Linked DNA regions of Homo sapiens: region 2 is linked to region 1. Evidence: promoter capture Hi-C in 16 types of primary human blood cells and fetal thymus (Javierre and others, 2016). All regions are on one chromosome and are shown on one strand. The core of a region is centred on a gene start or on the middle of the fragment in contact, and the rest is flanking DNA. Distances in the headings are between cores, read along the strand shown.

The links. The method cuts DNA at HindIII sites, captures the fragments that hold promoters and counts their contacts. A CHiCAGO score of 5 or more calls a contact.
Region 2: a contact is called between a fragment that was not itself captured here and the fragment with the promoter of TMEM168 in region 1, in 1 of 17 cell types (fetal thymus). The highest score is 5.2, in fetal thymus.

What each region holds. Positions count from the first base shown.
Region 1 is chr7:112,788,191-112,792,125 of GRCh38, forward strand. It overlaps TMEM168 (transmembrane protein 168), which reads right to left and starts at 2,203. Exons shown (of 5, transcript NM_022484.6): 1 at 1,970-2,203. RefSeq lists an enhancer at 2,462-2,591. The HindIII fragment of the contact is 5,754 bases long and covers 1-3,324 here.
Region 2 is chr7:111,738,101-111,742,035 of GRCh38, forward strand. It overlaps DOCK4 (dedicator of cytokinesis 4), which reads right to left. Exons shown (of 53, transcript NM_001363540.2): 45 at 3,913-3,935; 46 at 3,440-3,561; 47 at 2,994-3,114; 48 at 1,296-1,377; 49 at 1,034-1,143. Among named protein-coding and RNA genes, the nearest start is that of DOCK4-AS1, 68 kb to the right of the region's middle. The HindIII fragment of the contact is 1,701 bases long and covers 1,356-3,056 here.

The DNA.
Region 1 (3,935 bases), core at 953-3,452:
CATCCTTTGGATGTTCAACCCCAAACCTAGGCTTTTCTCTCACTATATACTTTCTCTAAGCAATGTCATTTATTTCTATGTCTTTGATTATTATCTCTCTACTTAAGTGCACACATATATTAATCTACCTATAGAAAATGAAGCACCAGCTCTGTTCTGCACTGTTAACAGAGGTAAATACCTGGAAACAAAGTAAATGTAAACATGTAAAAAAAAAATTAGTGAAGTACAGTGCATCCATATAATGCAATATATGCAGTTACCTTCCTATGGACCAAAATCAACATGGCAGATTGTTTTTAAATGGCTAATTTACAAAACTCTTCCCCATTCTGATCTTCTTCAAAAGACAGCCTGAGTTAGAGAATAACAGAAAAACATTACATTCCTTTTCAATCGGTTTGCCGTCACTAATGATTCAATGGACAATTATTCCAGAGGTAGATGAAAATGGACCATAGAGGAGTCAATATGCATATGGGAAAAGCTAACCAATCACTGCCAGAGTCTGATTATTTCATAAAACCTTACATACTATTCTAACCCTCCTCTCCACCATCATCTACATTTAATCCTCACCAAGTCCTGTCTACTATTCTTCCTAAACATTTTTTAAATGTTTCTACTTCTCGTCCCCAGGGTCACCATCCCAATTTTGGCCACCATCATGTTGAACATTTCCCTGTATCCACTCTTGCCCTCTCTAAGAAGTGTACTTTTTAAAACCAAAATTTAGCACTCCACTATGTAAAATGCTCCAATGGCGTCCCATCACCCTTAGCAATAAAGTCAAAACTCCTTACAGTGCCTTATAAGGCACTCCGTGTTGGGCCTGAATAACTCTCCTGCCTTATCTGTTACCAGTTTTCCTCTCACACTTTATTTTCCAACCTTACTGACCTTTCAATTACAAACTGCACAAATGCTATTCCCTTGCCAGGTACACTCCTTTTCCTCCTCCTGGCCCCACCCCAGTGCTCACACCTGGCTTATTCCAACTCTTCAGGTCTCAGATAAATCATTTTCTTAAGAGATTATCCCTGCCCCCTCCCCATTACATGACCCCCATACTTTCTCTGTTACATACCATCACTTATTTCATGTCTGCATTTCCCACTAGATCAAAAGGTCTCTGAGGGTTTGTCTTCAATACTGTACACCCAGTGACTAGCAAAAATCCGGCATCAAGAAGGTATTCAATAAATACTTGTTGAAAAATAAAGACTAATAAAGAAATAACTACATTTAACAACAATAGTCACCATTGGACACTTACTAATGCCTAAAGAGAATACAGAACTTAGCTATATCCCACAACTAATAACTAGTAGAACTAAGGGAGAGTCCATGAATGTTTGGTTTCTATTTCAGCTTTCCACCAGTCTTTACTTAATTCACCCAAATTCTTCCAAACCAATTCTCTCTCCATGTCCTACCTCTAGGGAATGGCTTGAGGCATACCGTATCACTTGCATTATCTTTCACTCAGAAACTCTGTCCCATCTAGAAGTGTCAAGGCTGAAAGAACTACACTGAAAAAACAGGGAATTTCAGTGCTTCAGTTCTGAATTACTGATAACTCTTTGAGCCATCTCATACGAGGAAAATGTCATCTAGAATATCAAACTCCTCAGCACTAGAGCAGCAACAGCAATTTCTCTCCCTTTCGGCCTCCTTCTAGCGAGATGTGGGAGGTCCGACAAGGAGCTTGGCTGTTCTCCACCATCCTCTGCCTCGGAGAACGCGACCACAACGTGGCGCCCAGTTGAGGGGGAACCCTTGCGAAATACGGAGAGGCGCTCCCACACCCTCCAATCTCCAACCACCACTGTCAACTCCTCCAGAGGCAGGTATCCTACCCCGGCCCTGGGAGGCCGACTGGGCGGAGCTTGGGGTCCGGACCACGCGGAGCCCTGGCAGTGTCTATGCCTAGATCTCGCCGCCCTGCCGTCCACCCATTTCTCCCTACCTGACTCGGCCGTCGCCACCAACGCGCTCTCCCAACCCTCGGAGTCAGTTCCAAAACCAAACCAAAAAGGAGGAGAGCAGACAAGGCTTCAGCCTGCGACTGAGAACAGGGAGGCGGCACGCCTTGGGGAACGAGGGCCCGAGGCCATACGCGCTAATACAGGCCAGTGTCGGCGTAAACTTTCTCCGTTACCGGCCCGGCCGCGACCGCCATGTTTCCGCCGCCGAAATCCGCGACGGTACGGAACGCCGCCGGGGTCAAACTGCGCGGCGCGCCTCCTTCCCGAGGCCCGGCCCCCTCCCCGCCCAAACCCGCGCGCCGCCACACACTCAGGTGAGCAAGGCGCTGCGCGAGTGTCAACTGCCCCACCTAAGGCGCCTGCCTTCCTCAAGCCAAAGTCGACTCCTGGGACCTGGAATCAGCAGCTGAGAACAGACAGCGGGAAGACCACCAAAGATCAGGCTGACAGTGCCCATCAAGCATCTAGGCCACCGCCTCGGGCTGGACCGAACGGGGACAGGGTGGACAGGACTGCCACGCGTGGGCTGTAAATACTGCGGGAGGCGTTGCTGCTCATTAATATATATGGCATAATATATGGCTTTGTAACCAGCTAAGGCCCAAGCTCCTTAGGCCCTCCCTCAGACCTTTCAGTTCCTCAAATGCAGGGACATGTCGGGTTTTGCTCAACATTAAATCACCTTAGCATAGTGCCTGACACATAGTTGGCACTTAAATATTTGTAAAATAATAATATGCAATAGGCTCTCCACGATCCGTAGTTCTCTCCTCCCACTTGTTTTGCATGTATTATCTATATATTTTTCCTATTTTCCATAATAGAGTGTGAATTTCCTAATTTTCATAATAGATGTTGGGGGTTGGTGTGGCCAGCACATCTATAGGAATGAACAACTCTCAGATTGAGATTCTGCATATGTGGATGAAAATTTTGAGTTAGATTCTCTCTAGACTCCTGATTTTAAAAGCAATCACAACTCAACTTCCCAAATCTGTAACTAGCTCTCTGGGGAACACGAGTGCCACATTTCCAACTACCTGCTAGATGTTTCTACTCAAATATATTGTCATCACTTCCAACTCAACTTGCCTTTAATGGACATTTATATACATTTATTATGCCCCCCATTTGAATCCCCTTCCGTATTTGGAGAATTCCCCACCTGAGTTAAGAGTCTAATGGCTGCCGCTGAAATGCTGAACACTTGTTTAACTAATCATGTGTACCCGCTGGAAGCCATGAGTCAAAAAAGGCACAGAAAGCTACACTCCCAGGTCACCTGTAGGAGTATAGCAAGTGTAGAGATCGAGAACCCATCCCTAACAGCAAGGTAAGCTTCCGAGGCAGTAGTGAGAGTGCTGGCATCCACCATTAACATGTCAGAGATGCAAGATGCCTGTGCTTGGTGAGGGTCACAACCCCAGAGCCCTTTCCCAATCTGTTCTGTAGCCTGTTAACAGTCTCTGTGTACATTTCTGGGTAGCCTGTGACAGACTCTGTACTACATAGCTGTGAGGCAGGACAATAGGGTCTGGAGGCAAGGAACTTACGGCTGATTCATGCTGACTTTCTAGAACTAAATCAAAAGGAAAGCCCCAACTTTCCACAGCTAAGTAACAAAGGGACCCGGCCCCCTCCCCCACCACCGCCCTTTTCTGCGTGGCAGACGGAAAATTGAAAGTACCTCGGATTGGTTGCTTTCCATAACTAATTAAATGTTTGCATAGGGTGTAACCTTTGTAACTTCGCTTCAGGCTCTGATTGGTTGCTTTCCGCTATCAGACTGATTGTGGGCCACTATATTTGCGTGGGGTGTACACCAAGTGGCCAATGGGAAACCTCTAGAGGGTGTTTATACCCCAGAAAATTCTATAACCCGGCCGCCCCGCTCTTGAGCCCCATGTTCCGGCTCTTCACACCCTGTGGAGTGTACTTTCATTTTCA
Region 2 (3,935 bases), core at 956-3,455, 1.1 Mb before region 1:
TTCCCAAATCTTTAAAACTCAGGGCTACCCATGAATCTTCAACTTTGAAACCACCCTTCAAGGCTCCTGAAGTGCCCAAGGGCTGAGCCCAAGCCTCTGCTCTCAGAAAAACAGGGATCACTTCAAAACCAAGTTCAGGCAGGGGGTGAGGGCCAAGCTCCCTTACTCGCATGAGCAGTTGACAGGGAAAGGCTGAGGACTGAACCGCTCTTTTCTCATGCATTCAAGAATGGCAAAGGCAAACAAATTGCTCCTATACTCATGGGTACCCAGATAGGAATCGATTGCAGCTCTTTTAAATAGGTCTAGGCAAAGGCAAAGACTGCTGGGCAGGAGAATGCTTCTCTTCAAGGGTATTTTCCTAGTTTAAGAGGTTCCCCCAGACTTCTGTTACATACACAGGGCATGCAAACACAGGCACTTTATTCACCCAACTACTTTGCATAATGTTTAAGAAGCAGCAATGAAATAGATCAAGGAGGGTAAACTTCCCATTTCCCTTTTAGCATCACTGCCAAGCAACTACCATGTGTCCCTATCAGAAATATGGCTCAGGGCCGGGAGTGGTGGCTCATGCCTGTAATCCCAGCACTTTGGGAGGCCAAGGCAGGTGGATCACCTGAGGTCAGGAGTTCGAGACCAGCCTGGCCAACATGGCAAAACCCCATTTCTATTATAAATACAAAAATTAGCCATGTGTGGTGGTGGGCACCTATAATCCCAACTACTCGGGAGGCTGAGACAGGAGAATTGCTTGAACCCAGGAGGTGGAGGTTGCAGTGAGCCAGGATTGTGCCACTGCACTCTAGCCTGGGTGACAGCGAGATCCTGTCTCAAAGAAAAAAAAAAAAAGATGGCTCAGGCAGAAATTTCTAACCATGGGCAGAAAACAGAGGTGCAATCTTCACCAGCTGGATTGGTCTGACACTGCCCAGCTGCTTGCTTTTGGCAGCTACCGCGTGTTTCTGCAGAGATAGGTAAGCAATTCCAGAATTGTCCTTGTTTTCTAGTTTCTCTACCCTACAAGGAGTACCTGCGAAGGCTCCACAGGTGTTGGATAGATGGCACTGCATGGTCTCTCTCTTGGTGACAGGCAAGAGTTTTCTCGGGAATGTTTGTGTTTGTCAGACAACAAAGGAGAAGCTGGGAAGAGAAGGAGAGAGAGGATCATCAGCATGGTAGTGGTGCTGCACCTGTTTGGAGGCGAGAGCCTGAACGTGTGGCAGCTGGCCACAGTTCCCAGGACTAGAAGGTTCTCTGGGCACCCTCAGTCTTCCCCACACTCTGGCACTGACCTCTGGCACTCGATGGAGCAGAACTTGTCACATTAGGTGAAGCCGAGTGAGTAGAACTCAAGCTTGAGGTAGATGGACTTGGCTGGAAACACACAGGGAGCTATTATCATACCCTGATTAAAGGCTTCCCACGACACTGACGTATTTGAAACAAAATCATCAACTTTTTTTCAAATTAGCAACAAAAAGTCCGTTTAACAATATAGAAAATCTTAATAACTTAGATTGACAAAGAAGTCTGCATGAATTAATGAAAAGTCTGAGATTTTGACTCCTGCCAAAGGAATGCCTTCGTGTTAGATTCAGCTATACACTGTGACTTCGTACCAGTTAGCAGTGCATTCCTTCATTGAGGTATAAGTAGAATGACTTCCAGCCTAGGGCCCAAAAACAGGCGAGTGCGTCTAAAAGGCATAAAATATGCCTTCTTGTTATCTGTACAAGTATGTTCAAAGCATGAATTTGGAAATAAGTGTTATGTCTCCTTTCCAAAGATAGTGGTGAGGAAAATTTCAGCTTAGTCTTACTGAACTATCATAAATGCCATATTAGTAGTGTTTAAATAAAATGTTTGCTTGCAGGAGTTATACTGGCTCTAAAATCCCTAAAAACTACATTTTTCTTGTATAAAAAAAATACCTTTGGAAACTTTCTGATATGTACATAAGTAAAGATAATTTTAAAACAGACCCTCAAATCATGTCTTTTTTTCTTTTTTCTTTGAGACACAGTCTCGCTTTGTTGCCCAGGCTGGAGTGCAGTGACATGCTCTCGGCTCACTGCAACCTCCTCCTCCCAGGTTCAAGCGATTCTCCTGCCTCAGCCTCCCGAGTAGCTGGGATTACAGGCATGCGCCACCATGCCCGGCTAATTTTTGTATTTTTGATAGAGACGGGGTTTCACCATGCTGGCCAGGATGGTCTCGAACTCCAGATCTCAAGGTGATTCGCTCACCTCGGCCTCCCAAAGTGTTGGGATTACAGGCATGAGCCACTGCACCTAGCCAAATCATGTCTTCTTAAAGAAAAAAAAAGCCATTTTGGAATGCTAAGAGGGGCCGGGCGCAGTAGCTCATGCCTGTAATCCCAGCACTTTGGGAGGCCAAATTGGGCAGATCACTTGAGGTCAGGAGTTCGAGACCAACCTGGCCAACATAGTGAAACCCCGTCTCTACTAAAAATACAAAAATTAGTCGGGCGTGGTGGTACACACCTGTAATCCCAGCTACTCACGAGGCTGAGGCACGAAAACTGCCTGAGCCCGGGAGGCGGAGGTTGCAGTGAGCCAAGATCGCACCACTGCACTCCAGACTGGGAGACAGAGTGAGACTCGCTAAAAAAAAAAAAAAAAAAAAAAAAAAAAAAAGGCAAGCTAAGAGGCAGCTAGTGAGTGGCAACACACTCTGAGAGTCCTGGACTGCAGAAGGAACTTGGGGCAGGTCTCAGAGCTGAACCTTGTGCAGCGTGCCTAGGCTTTTCCATCGCTTGCTGATGTCGTCTTAAAGCGATGGGGCAGTTTTAAGAGAAACGTCTTTGTAGACTCTAGAGACCCATAAAGCAAGAAGAGTGTTTAAAGGTTTGTCCTTAAGCCAAGTTCTTGCTTGTTGGTCTGTTCATCAGCACAGCAGAATGAACAGAAACACTCATGATTGAGACAGAAAAGGAATAAACACAACCAGACAAAAAGCTAATTAAGTACCTGCATGTTAAAGACTTCATCAGAGCTTTCTGATTGCCCTGTAATATTGCTTACTTCAGCAGAAGCTTGTGAGGACAGTGAGGAGGAAGAATATCGGTTGACAGCTGGGTAACTTAACGGGCTGTTTCAGGGGGAAAAAAAAGGTCATTAACTCAGTCTCCAAATTGTACTTTATCATGTGCTAGAATGCTATGAAACCAAAGGGGGGAAAATACATTCCGTTTTGTTTTCTCCTGTTTGCCTCAATATAATCAAATGTTTGAGTTTATTTATTTCTCATGCTGTTGCTGTTTTACTGGTGGCAGAGGTCTGCAGCTGCCTCGCGGGTTAGTTATTTCATTAAGAAATAGCGTATTTGACAAATTGTGCCATAAAGAATGAGAGAACCATTCCAGATCAGCTTGCGGGTGAGGCCAAATTGTAAGATAATTTGGAATATGACTTACCTGCGTCTAGGAATTACCCTGGTACCATCTGGGCTCACAGAAGCAGGTGCTGAGTTTCTACACACACGAGGGCTTCCATTAGGAAAATGGACAGGACTGGCTTGCATACAAGCAGAGAACTCCTAAAGATGTAGTAAAGGAAATATCTCATTACAGTAATGATTTGGGCAAAATAACTTATGAGACAGGTTAGCATACTAGGCACACATCCTAATTGCCATCAAGTCTTCACATAGGGAGCTATTAAAGCAAGTTCCAGTATTATTTGGCTTTCCCTCACTTACATTTGTGTTTTCCCAAAAGGAAAGCCTCGCAAATAGCAGACAAGGCAATTGTATTTGAGGGCTCCCTGGTAAAACAGTGCAGTTTGGTAGAAAAACCACAAGATGTCACTATTGGATACATCATCATCCCTTTAACAAGCAAACGGCAGTGATCAGGCTGCCCCGCCATGGACACCTAAGTATACATACCTGTATCCCTAAGCTCGACTTCA